2 separate regions of the Homo sapiens genome follow, and region 2 is linked to region 1. The links are contacts of gene promoters, found by promoter capture Hi-C in human tissues and cell types (Jung and others, 2019). All regions are on one chromosome and are shown on one strand. Each heading gives the region's core, a stretch centred on a gene start or on the middle of the fragment in contact. The rest is flanking DNA. Distances are from core to core; before and after follow the strand shown. Region 1 holds the start of UGT8 (UDP glycosyltransferase 8). Region 2 has its middle 220 kb from the start of UGT8.

The links. Contacts are between HindIII fragments. The study calls those that stand out against the background at their distance.
Region 2: a fragment that was not itself captured here is called in contact with the fragment with the promoter of UGT8 in region 1 in 1 of the 25 tissues and cell types used here (heart left ventricle).

The regions. Positions count from the first base shown.
Region 1 is chr4:114,596,304-114,603,181 of GRCh38, forward strand. UGT8 (UDP glycosyltransferase 8) reads left to right here and starts at 2,504. Exons shown (of 6, transcript NM_001128174.3): 1 at 2,504-2,671. The HindIII fragment of the contact is 5,100 bases long and covers 1-4,220 here.
Region 2 is chr4:114,372,564-114,379,441 of GRCh38, forward strand. No RefSeq gene overlaps it. Among named protein-coding and RNA genes, the nearest start is that of UGT8, 220 kb to the right of the region's middle. The HindIII fragment of the contact is 4,313 bases long and covers 1,863-6,175 here.

The DNA of each region.
Region 1 (6,878 bases), core at 1,254-3,753:
CGTTTGATTTCATTAATTTCTTCTTCAAATTCTAGGAAGTCTGATCCCAGAGTTAATGGTGAATGATTACAAAACTTATATAATATCTCACATATGGTTGTTTATATTTTCCAATAAAGTTATATGGGGTGAATAATTATAACAAGTATTTCTGAAAAAAATAACAATTGAGAATACTGATATATATAGTCCACAGAAATAATGAGGGAATTTTAATACCATACTCCACATTGGCTGAAACTTTCTCACTGCAGGCTATGCTGTCCCATTCAACATTCTATAAACTAAAGATGATAGGGAGAATCTTGTTTAATCTGAATGGGAGCTTGAAGGATACATTAAATATGGAAAATATGCATCCTTCCTTAAAGAGAAGTAGCAAATGTTTTCATTATTCATTTATTCAACCACTTAGCCAATAATGTTAACAATTAAAGGTGGGAGCATTAAAAAAAGGAAAAGTGGGGTGGGGCGGTGAAATGAACCTCACTGATTTCTTGCTTTTATCATTTCAAACTCCAAAAGTGTATTTCAACTATTCATATGATGATTGAATAAACTTGTTTTACATTATGGAACACCCTTACTGTGTAGAGCTGTGAGAAATTCAATAATCAGTATTTAATGTGGACAAAAATAGATAGATTAGAGAAACAATAAACATGGACATATCTACACATAATATATACTCCTTTTCTATCCAAAAATCTGACAAAAACCTTACACAATGGTCAGTTTACACCATTTTAAGGACAAGGATGTGGTGAAACAATTTTAAACATTTTTATATAATAAAAGAAAAAAGTTGTTTTAATTGCTAATGATCAAGTTTTTACCAAGAATTTACATATGCATCATCAAACAGTAGCTTGAAACTGAAGCTTGACCTTTGAGAAATAAAGCTTTTAAAGTAAATGTCTAAATTCTCTTTTCTTTATTATGTTACATTTCATTTACTTTAGGTTTTCTAGTGCAATTTAAATAAGAAATAAATAGAGAGTATGGTAATCAGGTACAAAGGCTGTGAAAATATTCCCTGCATTTTGCACAGGGAATATGTTCAAATTCCTAATCTGCAAAGAAGAAAAGTGCATTTTCTTTTTTGAAATGGCATTTGAAGATCTCTCCATCCATGAACATTCTTGAGCATATGGATTTTACAATAACAGCAGTGTATATTAGTTTTTTAATTTATCATTAACTGATAACATATACAGTAAAATATAATTTCCGTTTTCTTATCTAAGGGCAGAAAATCCCAACCTATTTCTGAATCTCACTTTGGAACAAGGACAGAATGACCTGACATGGCATTTTTGATTTCCAACGTTTAAACGCATAACGTTTGTGTGCTATGGAAGCATCTTAGCTTCTGGAATTTATGCTCGACACGAAACATAAACAATAAACAATTCAGTCCACGTTATATAGACATATCTCATATATATATGAGATATATATATATAAAATATCTTACGCACATGCACACTTAGACTTTCTCGGTTTTCATGAAACTCACAATCTACCTCAGGCGCTCAAAGGCACTCGGCCTCTCAGGTCTGAGGCACCACAGAGAGGCTTCCTTGGGCACAGTTGCTTGCTGGTCAAGACGCCAACTTGGCAAGGTTATGCTGCTGGCAAAGGCAGATTCGTCAGAATAAAGTCGCCACAGGCTCAACCAGGCAAATCATGAATGGCCCTTTCAGCAGGAGCCTGAGAGGAGGGATGTTATTCAGCCCAGCAACCCTATTTACTTTTTTTCAGGATCCCCAAACTCGCGTTTTTTAAGGCTTTCCGCTACAAGAGAGCCAGAATTGAAGCCTGGGTTGGCGGCAGTGCAGGTACCTGCTCACCTAAGCATCCCTCTTTTAATTTTCCTAACTCCTCCACCCACTTGCCCAAGTATAACTTTTGAATGGATTCAGCAGAAGTGAGGCAGGAAAGGCAGGAAGATGAGAAAAGGCGCGACATCAACACGCAGAGCTCACTGAGCCGCCTTGATGATAAAAGGCGGGCACAGGGACTACGTGGGTGGTGGCAGAAAGGGCGCGGGACACGCCTCGCAAAGAGGGAAGAGTGGGCGGGGCCACGTGCCGTTGTCAGAGTTCGCAACTCGAGCGCCCAGAGGGCTCGCGAAAAGTCCCAGCCTGCAAGCCAACCTCGCTCAGCGGACGACTGGCCGGATCCCAACGCGCTGCCCCTTGCCCAGCCTGCGAGCGCGTGGTACGAAGGCGCGTCTGCATCCATGCCCCAGCCCGGGGAGCTGGAGGCGCTCGCAGTCAGAGGCGAGTGATGCTAGGCTGAGCGCGTGGCGGCCCGTGTCGTGCCCCGCTGAGCCAAGTGCGGAAGGGCAGCGGCGCGCTCCGACTCTGCTCGCCGCACGCAGGGCGGGGCGCGGCTGGGGGGCGGGGGGCCTGGCCGCCCGCTGGGAGCTGCGGACGAGCAGGCGCGCTGAGGACCCGAGGGAGGACACGGTTAAAGCATTGCTATCAACTGTGAACCCAGAGAGCCCTCCTTAGCCAACACGCTAACTCCGAAGCCTCCCTTACGCCCCCGAACCACCGAAGGCGGCGACACCTGATTCAGCGCACAAACACAGGTCCCTTCTGTCCCGGATACAATTACGCGGCAGACACACACTCAAACTCGCGCGGGGCAGCCAAGAGACGAGGTGAGCGGAGGGACCACGCCGTTCCAGAGGGCGGAAGGGGGGGCGGTCTGGGTGGAGGAGAGGGGCGTTGTTTGCTCCCTGAGGTGAGTGCCGGGCGAATGGCTGCTGTCCAGGGGCGGGGGGGTGGGAATTAGAAAGCACAGACAGGGTTGGGCTGAGGAAGTTAGAAGTGGTTAGTGGGGGTTGGCGGGGTAGGGAGAAAGGCTAGGGGTTGAGGGGGTGTGAAGGAGATCTTTTTAGGCTGGCCCCTCATAGCGCCCGCGATCCTGTTTCTGCCATATGGCATCCGTTCGAGGGTTCTCTCGCGTTTGTGCGCTCAAGGCAGAGGGAGGGTATAACGGGGAGGCGATTCGGCCGAGGACCTTGTACTTGACCCCTGAAGGGATGGGCACCGCGGAGCCCAGAGGCCAGAGCCAGCTGCCAGGGCAGGGATGGAGGTGGGGGACCAGGAGGAGCTTCGGGACCTCTTCAACTCCCCTTTACTCCGTCTTCCCCCTAAGGAGGAACAAGAGCGGGATGTGTTGGGGGTGGGGAATGTCTTGGGGCTGTACAAGCTCGCTGAGACTTTTCGGGGCCCGCCGTTTCCGCGTGCCCGCGCGACTCTCGACAATGGACAGTGTACAGTGGTGGCAGGGTTTCACGGGTCCCCGCGCCGATTTGGGAATGGTACGGGGTGCCCTTGCATTAGAGAAGCCTGTGCGGGCCCCCGGGATTAGAGAAGAGGTGAGCGCCTGCGGGCGGGGAGAGAAGGACGCGCTGCTGGCAAAAAGAAGGGCGCCTTCCATGGACTGGAGGAGCGGCGAGGGAGCCTGGTATGTGTGTTTTGGATTTGAAGGAGGCAAACCGCATCGGAGAGTGCAAGTAGATGCAGTGCGTCGGGGCAAAAGGACAATCTGAGGAGGTGGGCGGGGTACCCAATCTCTATATACAAGCTTTCTGGTTTAATTGAGGGTTTATAAAATTGAGTACGGTAAACCTGCCATTGTGCAGCACTTCCTTAGGAAAGGAATAGCCTCTGTACCTGTACCGCGAGTTCCCATCACCTTTCAGCATCTAGGCGGGGAGAGGAGAGAAGGTAGAGAACTTCTGAGAGAGTTCTGAGAACTAACGCGAATGGCTGGATTGCGCTAACTAGGCGTTCTTAGCAGGAAAATGTCGCCAAGGGAAGGAGTGGGTGGCGGTATCAAACCAGGCGTGCTCTGGAGAATCACCTTTATTATGAGCCAGTGTTAGCAGTGACGATAGAGTCTTTTATTTCTGGGGATCCTATTGGTAAAAATTAGAAAAAAACCACACTACTCCAAATACTCCAAAAATCTTCAGTCCCCTCAGGCTGTCACCTTGTACTACCAGTTTTTCAGTATCAATGACGTGAATGTTAGGGAGTTTGGCTAGATGCCAAATTGTTATCATTTCTGATAATTTCATGTTCAAAAACGTCTATATTCACTCAAAATTGGCGTGCTTCTGACATATCCCCAGAAAAAAATCACCACCATTTGAAGGAAGGATAGAAAGTGCCCTTTTTTCTTTTCTTTTTTAAAAACTTTTATTTTAGGTTTTGGGGTACATGTGAAGGGTTGTTACATAGGTAAACACATGTCACAGGGGTTTGTTTTACATATTATTTCATCACTCAGTTATTAAGCCCAGTACCCAATGGTTATCTTTAACCAATATTTTAATAGTGTTAAGAGTAACCATACTTTGTCCCCAGGAGATTTTAAAATTAGAGTCATGCATCTTAATATTATATGGTAAAGGAGACCAGAACTTTGTGTTACTTGAATTAAATCTTAGCCAGCTTAGTTTTCTCCTATAGAAACTGTCTCTTGGTGGTTTGAGGTTTTGCTTTAGGAATGTGTCTGTGTTCAGCAACTCTTCTAGATAATGCCAGAGAAAAACACTCTAGTATTGTATGATTTGCCTGCCACCTACAAGGTTAAGTTGACATCTAGTGTTGTGTGACTTAGTATTATACAAGTCTTTAAAAACTACAATAAAGCATAGTGCCCCGATATTTAGTAAAGGCTTGATACTCTATTAGGAGGTTGGGCATAACTGAACAGAAACTATACTTCTGACTTTTTCCAGGTAATACTACTATACAGGTTCAAACTCTTTTTAAATCTAAGATTTCCAGAGGACTATGCTTGTTGTATTTAAGCTTGGTACGCGTCTTAGAATAAATAAACCAATGCAGTAAATAAAGATGCTTATGACAATTTTTTTGGATAAAAACTACTTTTCGTTTAAAGATTTTGACAGTTTACATTTCCCAATAATTTAAATTAAAACATTTTATTGCACCTTATGAACAACTATCAGCTTCATTACCATTTAAATATTGCTAAAAATCCCATCTTCAATCCTCAAATCCTTTTTAAAATCATGCACCTGTTTATCAAATAATATCAATTTGTTGCTTTTTAATTCATACTAGGATTTTCCAACATACACCTGGGAATTTCTAAGATATCCTTGGAGAGTGAGAACTTTGATTATTTATGCAAGATATAGTATCTCATTTATTTGACCTCATCTGCATTGGTACTTATTTACATAAGCACATTTTCTCGGTAGCTGACTCTTCACACCGTTTATTACTGAAACTTAAAAAAAAAGAGCCATTATAACCCACAAGCAATTTCTAAATCTTACTGTCTTCCTTGTTCCCTTGGAGAATATTGGATATAAGTTATTCTTTCTTGTTGGGTTGTCTTTATGAATTCATAAAGAATTGAATAGTGCTATTCGCTGAGGTGTATAGAGCTGTTTTTGTTTATAGTAAATGGTCTCAGCCTGCTGGGTTGAAATACTAGAATAGAGACAGAAGTACCATTCTTCTTTTTATGTTTTTTTTTTTTTTCTGGGTCCTCTTTCTGTTATTGGCTATCACTTTCTGCTGCTGTCAGACTGTGAGTGGGCCCTGCTGCTCTATTATCTGTTGTCTTTTTTTCCATCAAATGATGTGGGCTATTGCCCGAGTGTAAATCCTGTAGACTTTGTGACAGACACTTTCAGTTTACGTGCTTTATTTGTGGTTTGGACTGTGAACTGAAATGTTTAGGTTTCCAGAAGGGTGACCTCTATATAAAAGGTTTTAATGTACCTTTTATAGAAAAAATTTGTGTATGAGATCTTTAGGAGGGTGTATTAATTTCAGACAATTCAGTCTTCTGGAATATCTTGGTGTTTCTGAGAAACTGAAGCAGCCTTTAAAAAAAAGTTTACTTTCTTATGATAGGCCCAGATCGTCTTTGTTTAGGAATATGTATACTAGAATATTTTACATATTACTTTCTGCCATTGAAACTTACTAACTATAATGTAGTGTAGTTAATATTTTTCTACCCCGGAAGTCCAGAATAAGAAGTATGATTTGAGAATCCTGCTAACCATACTTGAGGCTACATGAATTATTTAAATATTATTTTGCAAATCTACTTATGGAGGAGGTACATAATCAAATACATATGATTAAAATGGTTTAATTTGATCTTGAAAACAGTGGTAATCATATCTCCTTAATCTGAAGCATTTCACAAACATTCATTCTTTTATTCAACAAATATTTGTTAAAAGCATACTGTGTGCCAAGCACTGTGCTCTGGGGATGTGCATACAATTAAGGCCCTGGGAGGGCTCTAGGTTTAAAAGGGGGAGACAAGGAGGAAACAGGCTATTTTCAATATCTACAGTATAGTGCTGGCTGTTCTGTAAGTGCCGTGATAGAGATACACACACAGTACCCTGAGCAGAAATTTGGAAGTGGTCAATTCTGTGTGGGGACAGGAGATTTGAGGGTTTCTTAGAGGGTGACATAAAAGATGAATCACTGGAGGCAGGAGCAAGATCATGGAGGGCTGTTTGCCATTCTCAGGAGTATGGACTATTTTCAGTTTAAGGTTGTTTTAAACAGAGGAGCTATGTGATGAGAAAACAGCTCTTACAGCAAGCAATCTAGAAGGATGGATCTGAGGAATGTGAGATTTGGATGGTAGTTTAGAAGATATTGGGGTGGCTTTGGTAAGAGAGGTTGAGGTCCTTGTACCAAAGTGTTGGCAGTGGGATGAAAAAAAGGGGTTTGGTTACAACGATATTCAGGTGGTAGAACCTCTAAGATTAGGTGACCAATTTGGTTGGAGGATTGGGAGTGGGTGGTATAGGAGGATGGGATGGGAACTTAAAAGGAGATCCAGATTTG
Region 2 (6,878 bases), core at 2,769-5,268, 220 kb before region 1:
GCTCTAGAGGATACTATCATGAGTGAGGCAAGACATATTGATGTAAAACTAACATTAGGATAATGTTAAACAGTAACCTGGGGCATGGTGCAGTGGCTCATGCCTATAATCCCAGCAATTTGGGAGGCCAATGCCAGAGGATTGCTTGAGCCCAGGAGTTTAAGGCCAGCCTGGGCTCCGTAGGGAGACCCCGTATCTACAAAAATAAACAATTAGTCGGGTGTGGTGGTGTACGCCTGTGGTCCCAGCTACTTGGAAGGCTGAGTCAGGAGAATCGCTTGGGTGAGGTCAAGGCTGCAACGAGCCATGATCGTGCCACTGCACTCCAGCCTGGGTGACAGAGCAAAAGCCTGTCTCAAAACAACAAAACATGTGAAAGGGATTGAGTTGTTAATTCTTCTGGAGAGTATTGAGGAAGACTTTGCATTAAAAGAATGTGAGATCTGAGTCTTGAAGATGAGTTGAATTTTGAAAGAAGAGTAACAATAAAGGGTTTTCTAGTTCTATATATTCTATATAATATGTATATATAACATGTATATATTTTTGTTGCTTGTATATATGCAAAGGAATGAAAATAGCATCTTCATGGAACAATGAGAAATTTAGTGGTTTGAAAATTCAGCAGGCTTATGAAGAACATTTGTGGGGAATAGATTGAAAAAGTAGACTTAGGGTTCAGATTGTGGGATTATTCTGAATGTCATATTACTTTTGGACTTTATTTTATGGGTCATGAAAAAATACTGACATTTTTAAGTATGAGGACAAGATTTGTGGGTGACAAGCAGTTTGTCTTTCAGCAGTTCAGTCAACGACTGACTGGGTAAGGACGGGGTAAGGAGATGAGGATAATCTAAAAAGAGACAGACTGAGCTGGTTGCTCTGTTAATAAGGAGAAGAGGAAATATAATTAAGAGGGTTTCAGAAAAGTGATCAGTACAACTTGTTGAAATACTGTACATAAGAGAAAAAAGAATCACAGATAACTGTGGGACATGATAGACTAGATATCTTGGGTAAATGGTGATGTCATTTAGTGAGATAAAAAACTAGCAGGAGGAACACATTGGCAAGAGTTATTAAGTAGTGTTCTGTTCAGGTGTAGTTATCTAGTAGAAAGTGACTTTTTAAAAATGGAACTGTTCTGGGTGCTGAAAAATCTATGGTATAGCTCTATGACTGGATTTCTGAAGCATAGTAGAGACGTAGGTTTCAGAGTAAAGATATAAATAGTAAATTCATTAATTTTTATAAGGTAATATCAAGGTGTTAGCTGGAAATAGAGTAACATTTTTTTCCTGGACAATAATTTTTTAAAATTTCACCCTCAAATCACACCCTCTAAATTGGTGGTTCTCATAGCACGGTCATTAGAGCAGCAGCAATTTGGAAGTTGTTAAAAATATAACATATTATACCCCAACCATTACCTAATACATTAGAAACTGGACATCGAGGTCCCAAATCTGTGTTTTCACAAGCTCATCAAGTGATTCTGATTCATACTTGGTGGCACATTGTAATCACCTGGGAACTTTAAAAATACAGTGATGGCTGGACTCACCTCCAATAATTCTGATGTAATCAGGTGTATGGCCTAGGCATCAGGACTGGAAATTTCAGAAGTTTCCCAAGGTAATTGTAATGTGCAAATAGGGCTAGAACCACTGCATTAAAGATTAACAACAAAAAAACAAAATCAAGAGGATTATTTCTCAAACGTTAAAGTGAAAAACCAAAGGGACATTTCTGTTTGTCAAATAAGTTTTATTTTGTGTTTAATTGGCTTGTAATAATTGTATGACTTATGGGGTACACTGTGATGTTTATATATATGTGTATGTGTATATATATATAAACATATATATACATTGTATCAGGGTAGTAAGCAATATCCGTCACCTCAGCCTCTTGTCATTTCTTTGTTGTGAGAACACTCAAAGTCATCTCTTTTAGCTATTTTAAAGTATACAATACATTACTTTTTTATTGTTATCACTCTACTGTGCAATAGAACACCAGAACTTATTCCTTCTATCTAACTGTAATTTTGTTTTAACTAATTTATTTCTATACCCTCACTCTGCACTCTCCCCAGTCCCTGGTAACCACTATTCTACTCTCTACTCCTATGACATCAAGTGTTTTAGATTCCACATATGAATGAGATCGTGCACTATTTATCCTTCTTTGTTTGCCTTATTTCACTTAACATAATGTCCTCTAGGTCCCCCATGTTTTTGTAAATGACAAGATTTTGTTATTTTTGTGGCTGAATAGTATCCCATCGTGTATCACATTTATTTAACACATTCATCTGTTGAGAAACACTTAGGTTGATTCCATATCTTGGGATTGTAAATAGCAGTGCAATAAACATGAAAATGCAGATGTCTTTTTGACATACTAATTCCATTTCCGTTGGCTATATACCCAGTAGTAAAATTATTGGATCATATGGTAGCTTCATTTTAAATTTTTTGAGGAACCTTTATACTGTTGTCCATAATGGCTATACTCCTTTACACCTCCATCAACACTGTGTAGGAGTTCTCCTTTCTCCACACCCTCACCAGCATTTGTTATTTTCTTGTCTTTTTTCATAGTAGCCATTAAAACTAGGTTGAAGTAATAGCTCATTGTGGTTTTGATTTGCATTTCTCTGATAATCAAAGATGTTGAGCATTTTTACATAACTGTTGGCCACTTGTATGACTTCTTTTGAGAAATGTCTATTTGTATCTCATGCTCATTTTTAAATCAGATTATTTGGCTTTTCACTATTGAGTTGTTTGAGTTCCTTATATATTCTGGATATTAGCCCTTGTCGGATGCATATTTTGTAAATATTTTCTCCCATTCTGCATGTTGTCTCTTGACGCTTTGATTATTTCCTTTGCTGTGTAGGAGCTTTTATTTTGATATAATCCCATTTGTCTATTTTTGCGTTTCTGTCCCTATGATTTTGAGGTCTTATTAAGCACTTTTATCCAAAGCAATGTCATGAAGTGTTTTCCCTGTTTTCTTTGAGTAGTTTTATAGTTTTGGGTCTTATATTTAAGTCTTTAATCAATTTTCAATTGATTTTTGTGGTGAGAGATATATGTCTAGCTTTGTTCTTTTAGATATGGATGTGCAGTTTTCTCAGCATCATTTATTGAGAAGACCATCCTTTCCCCAATGTGTGTTTTTTGCACCTATGTTGAAAATCAGTTTGCTATAAATGCACAAATCAGTAGTGTTTCTACATGCCAACAGCAGGCTATCTGAAAAAGAAATCAAGACAGCAATGCAACTAGCAATGGCTACAAAACAAGAAATGGCTAGGGATAAATTTAACCGAGAGGGTAAAAGAGCTCCTCAAAGAAAATTTTAAAATGTTGATGAAATAAATTGAAAAGAACACAAATAAATTGAAAGATAAATTTCATGTTCATGGACTGGAATAATTAATATTGTTAAAATGTTCATATTACCGAAAGTAATCTACAGATTCAGTGCAATCCCCATTAAAATATCAATGATATTTTTCACAGAAATTGAAAAAGAAATCTAATGTGTATATGGAATCACAAAGACCTGAAATAGCCAAAACAAACTTGAACAACAACAACAAAAAAGAACAAAACTGGAGGCAGCACACTACTGACTTTAAAATATTAAATAATTATTATTAATATCGCTTTATTATATTATGTATTAATATTACCTGAAAACATTATTATTAAAATATTATTATCATTACTACAAAGCAAAAATAACCAAAATAGTATGGTATTGGTATAAAAACAGAGACAACAGAACAGAATAGAGGACCCAGAAATAAATCCATCCTATTTTTATTAAGATAAAAATACATATTCTGATACAGAATGTCAGAGGTGTGGCTTAAGAGTCTGCATTTCTAGTCAGCAACTCTTGATCATAGACCACACTTTAAACAGCAAAGCTCTAGGGCACCCTAGTCAGGCATGTATGTCATATCTTCCATAGATGTGAAGAAACAACGGATTGGCTGGGGGATGACTTTTCTGGGATTTTAATTAGCTGCTCAAGAGAAAATATCAGAGATGAGAGTGGGAGCCAAACAAACTTACAAACATACTCAACTTTTAGAAAAGTTTTTGGATTAAAATTATATCCTAAAAGAGTGCTTCAAAAAATTCATTCTTTAAAATAAAATACTGGACTAAACTTATCTGAAGTGTTGAGAGTTAAATTTTTGCAGGTAGGTCCCAAGGGAATCTTGATTATTTTATGCCTGATTACGTTTTACTGGAGAGGTCGTGGGTCTAAGGTTTGAATGTGTCCTACAAAGTTCATGTGTTGGAAACTTAATCCCCAATGCAACAATGTTGAGTGAGACGTGGGACCTTTAAGAGGTGATTAAGTAATGAGAACTCTGCCTTCATGAATAGATTAACGCAATTATTAAGGGAATGAGTTTGTTATGTTGGGAGTGGGTTCCTGATTTTTTAAAAAATGAGTTCAGCACCATTCCTCTCTCTCTCTCTCTCACACACACACACATACACATACACACACACACGCCTTCTTGCTCTTCTGCATTCTACCATGAGATGATGCCACGTCACGAGATGATGAAGGCCCTAGCCAGATGAAGGCCCCTTGACCTTGGACTTTCCAGCCTTTAGAACTATAAGCGATAAATTTCATTTTTTTTTTTTTTGAGATGGAGTCTCGCTCTGTCGCCCAGGCTGGAGTGCAGTGGCGCAATCTCGGCTCACTGCAACTTCCGCCTCCTGAGTTCAGGCAATTATCTGCCTCAGCCTCCCGAGTAGCTGGGATTACAGGCATCCAACACCATGTCCGGCTAATTTTTTGTATTTTTAGTAAAGACAAGGTTTCACCATCTCAGCCAGGCTGGTCTTGAACTCCTGACCTCGTGATCCACCCGCCTCGGCCTCCCAAAGTGCTGGGATTACTGGCGTGAGCCACCACACATGGCCTCTATTCTTTATAAATTACCCAGCTTCAAGTGTTCTGTTATATAGCAACATAAAATGGATTAAGACACCAGTGTAACTTTGACAGCCTTATTAGGCATTATTCCAGAAGAAATAACCCACATGGGTTCTTATTAATCTACTCATTGGTCAATGGGAAAGTATTTTCTATTTGTATGTCTTCACTTATTAGTGAAAGGCAACCTACACATTCAGAACTTTAACACTTTTTTGGGAGAAAGTATCCCCTAAAGAGATTATCTAGTTTTTTAAATCCTTTTTTTAAAATCATTTTCAAAGAAATGTCTCTTTGTGGTTTTAATGGAGGTTCAGTTTAAAATGTGGTAGTCAAAAGAAACCAATTTAGCTGCTTTCTTTGACCAGTGACAACAGTCTAATCATCGCTTGCTTAATTGGCTCTGCAATTTCCTAATTAGCATAGGATTGGCCAGAGCCTGATGTGATAGCTTACCCTTTGGCTCTTAAATTCTAGCTTTTTCTTTATTAATCAAAAGGAAAATCATCATGCATGTTAAAATCATTAAAGAAGAACTCCTTTTATCAAACCTTTAGGCTTCTGAAGTTAGGAGACATCTCTTCTTGTAAATTACGTTCTAGACTTGTTAATTTTTAAGTGAGTGAACTAATCTTTGGTGGAAAATAGGTGAGGGATTAATTAATAGAAGGTGGTAAATGTTAAAGGAATATGGTTCAGAATGAAGTTAGGTACCATGCATTCCTGCTGAGTTAACCTAAAACATAAAGTCATCTTTTATTTTCCCAAGGAAAAGATCCAGAAAGAAGTTTTTTTCACTAACTTTACCATATTAACATCTAATTTTGTATATATAATTGTAAATACTATTTAAAAGGTAAACTGAAACACAATACTATTTTAAAAAATTTATTGCAGCTAACAATGATTCATTAACCGGGCGGCTCCAAACCAGAAGTGATCTGAGAGCTCCACCAAGTGAAATGCAACAGGGAAGCTTTTACAATCCTATCATTGAGGTAAAAGAAAATAAGACATTTGACTGATTACAGTTGTACAGTTGCTTTATTTGGTTTCTTTTCTTAGAAAGTTGCTAATTATAATATGTTAATTGGCTGCTTCTGATTGATTGAGATTGAGTTCTGTTTTTCGTTAATACAGGCATTTACAAGAAACACCTCAGGTTGTTTCACTTATGTTTGCAAATCGAGCAAGGTTGAGGTAACTTATGAGCTCTAATTGGGTTTGTCAGCTCAGGGATTTTTTTCAGGCATGGTCTCCATCTTAATTAACTTCAACAATATCAACTTTTAATATTTACTTCATCAAATAAATTAACATATTTATAATCACAAATTATTATGTAATTACTTTACTACTATAAAAATATACTTTTTCACATTCCTTGAACTATTTTATTTAAGCTTTTGATATGTATTTCCTAAAGTAGTCTTCATCATTAACAGAGCTGCCTGTTGAATCTAATGGCTTTGTCCAGAGCACATTATTTTCTTACTGGTCCACACTTTTTTGAGATAAAGCACTTTCTGGGTCTGTATACAATGTTTTCACTGGAAAATTTATCCTGAGTGTATACATTCACAAAACATTAGCCCATTTGTTTTTATATTTTCCTATGAATATACATCCACTATCTCCTCAACACGACCATTTGCTGCATTGCTTTTTAAATAAATTTTAAACTTGTTTATAACCCAGCACTTGCAATTGTGAAGTCATGTTCATGATAGGAATAAATAAATCTGTATTATAGTTTTAGGGTTTTTTTTCTTTCTCATCAATTCAGTCGATCTCAGTCAATCACTCACTTGATACTAGTATTGACAGATTTTTAGGCTAATGTGTCTTCACTGAACAACAACAATTTGGTTTGGTTAGTCAAAATTAAATAA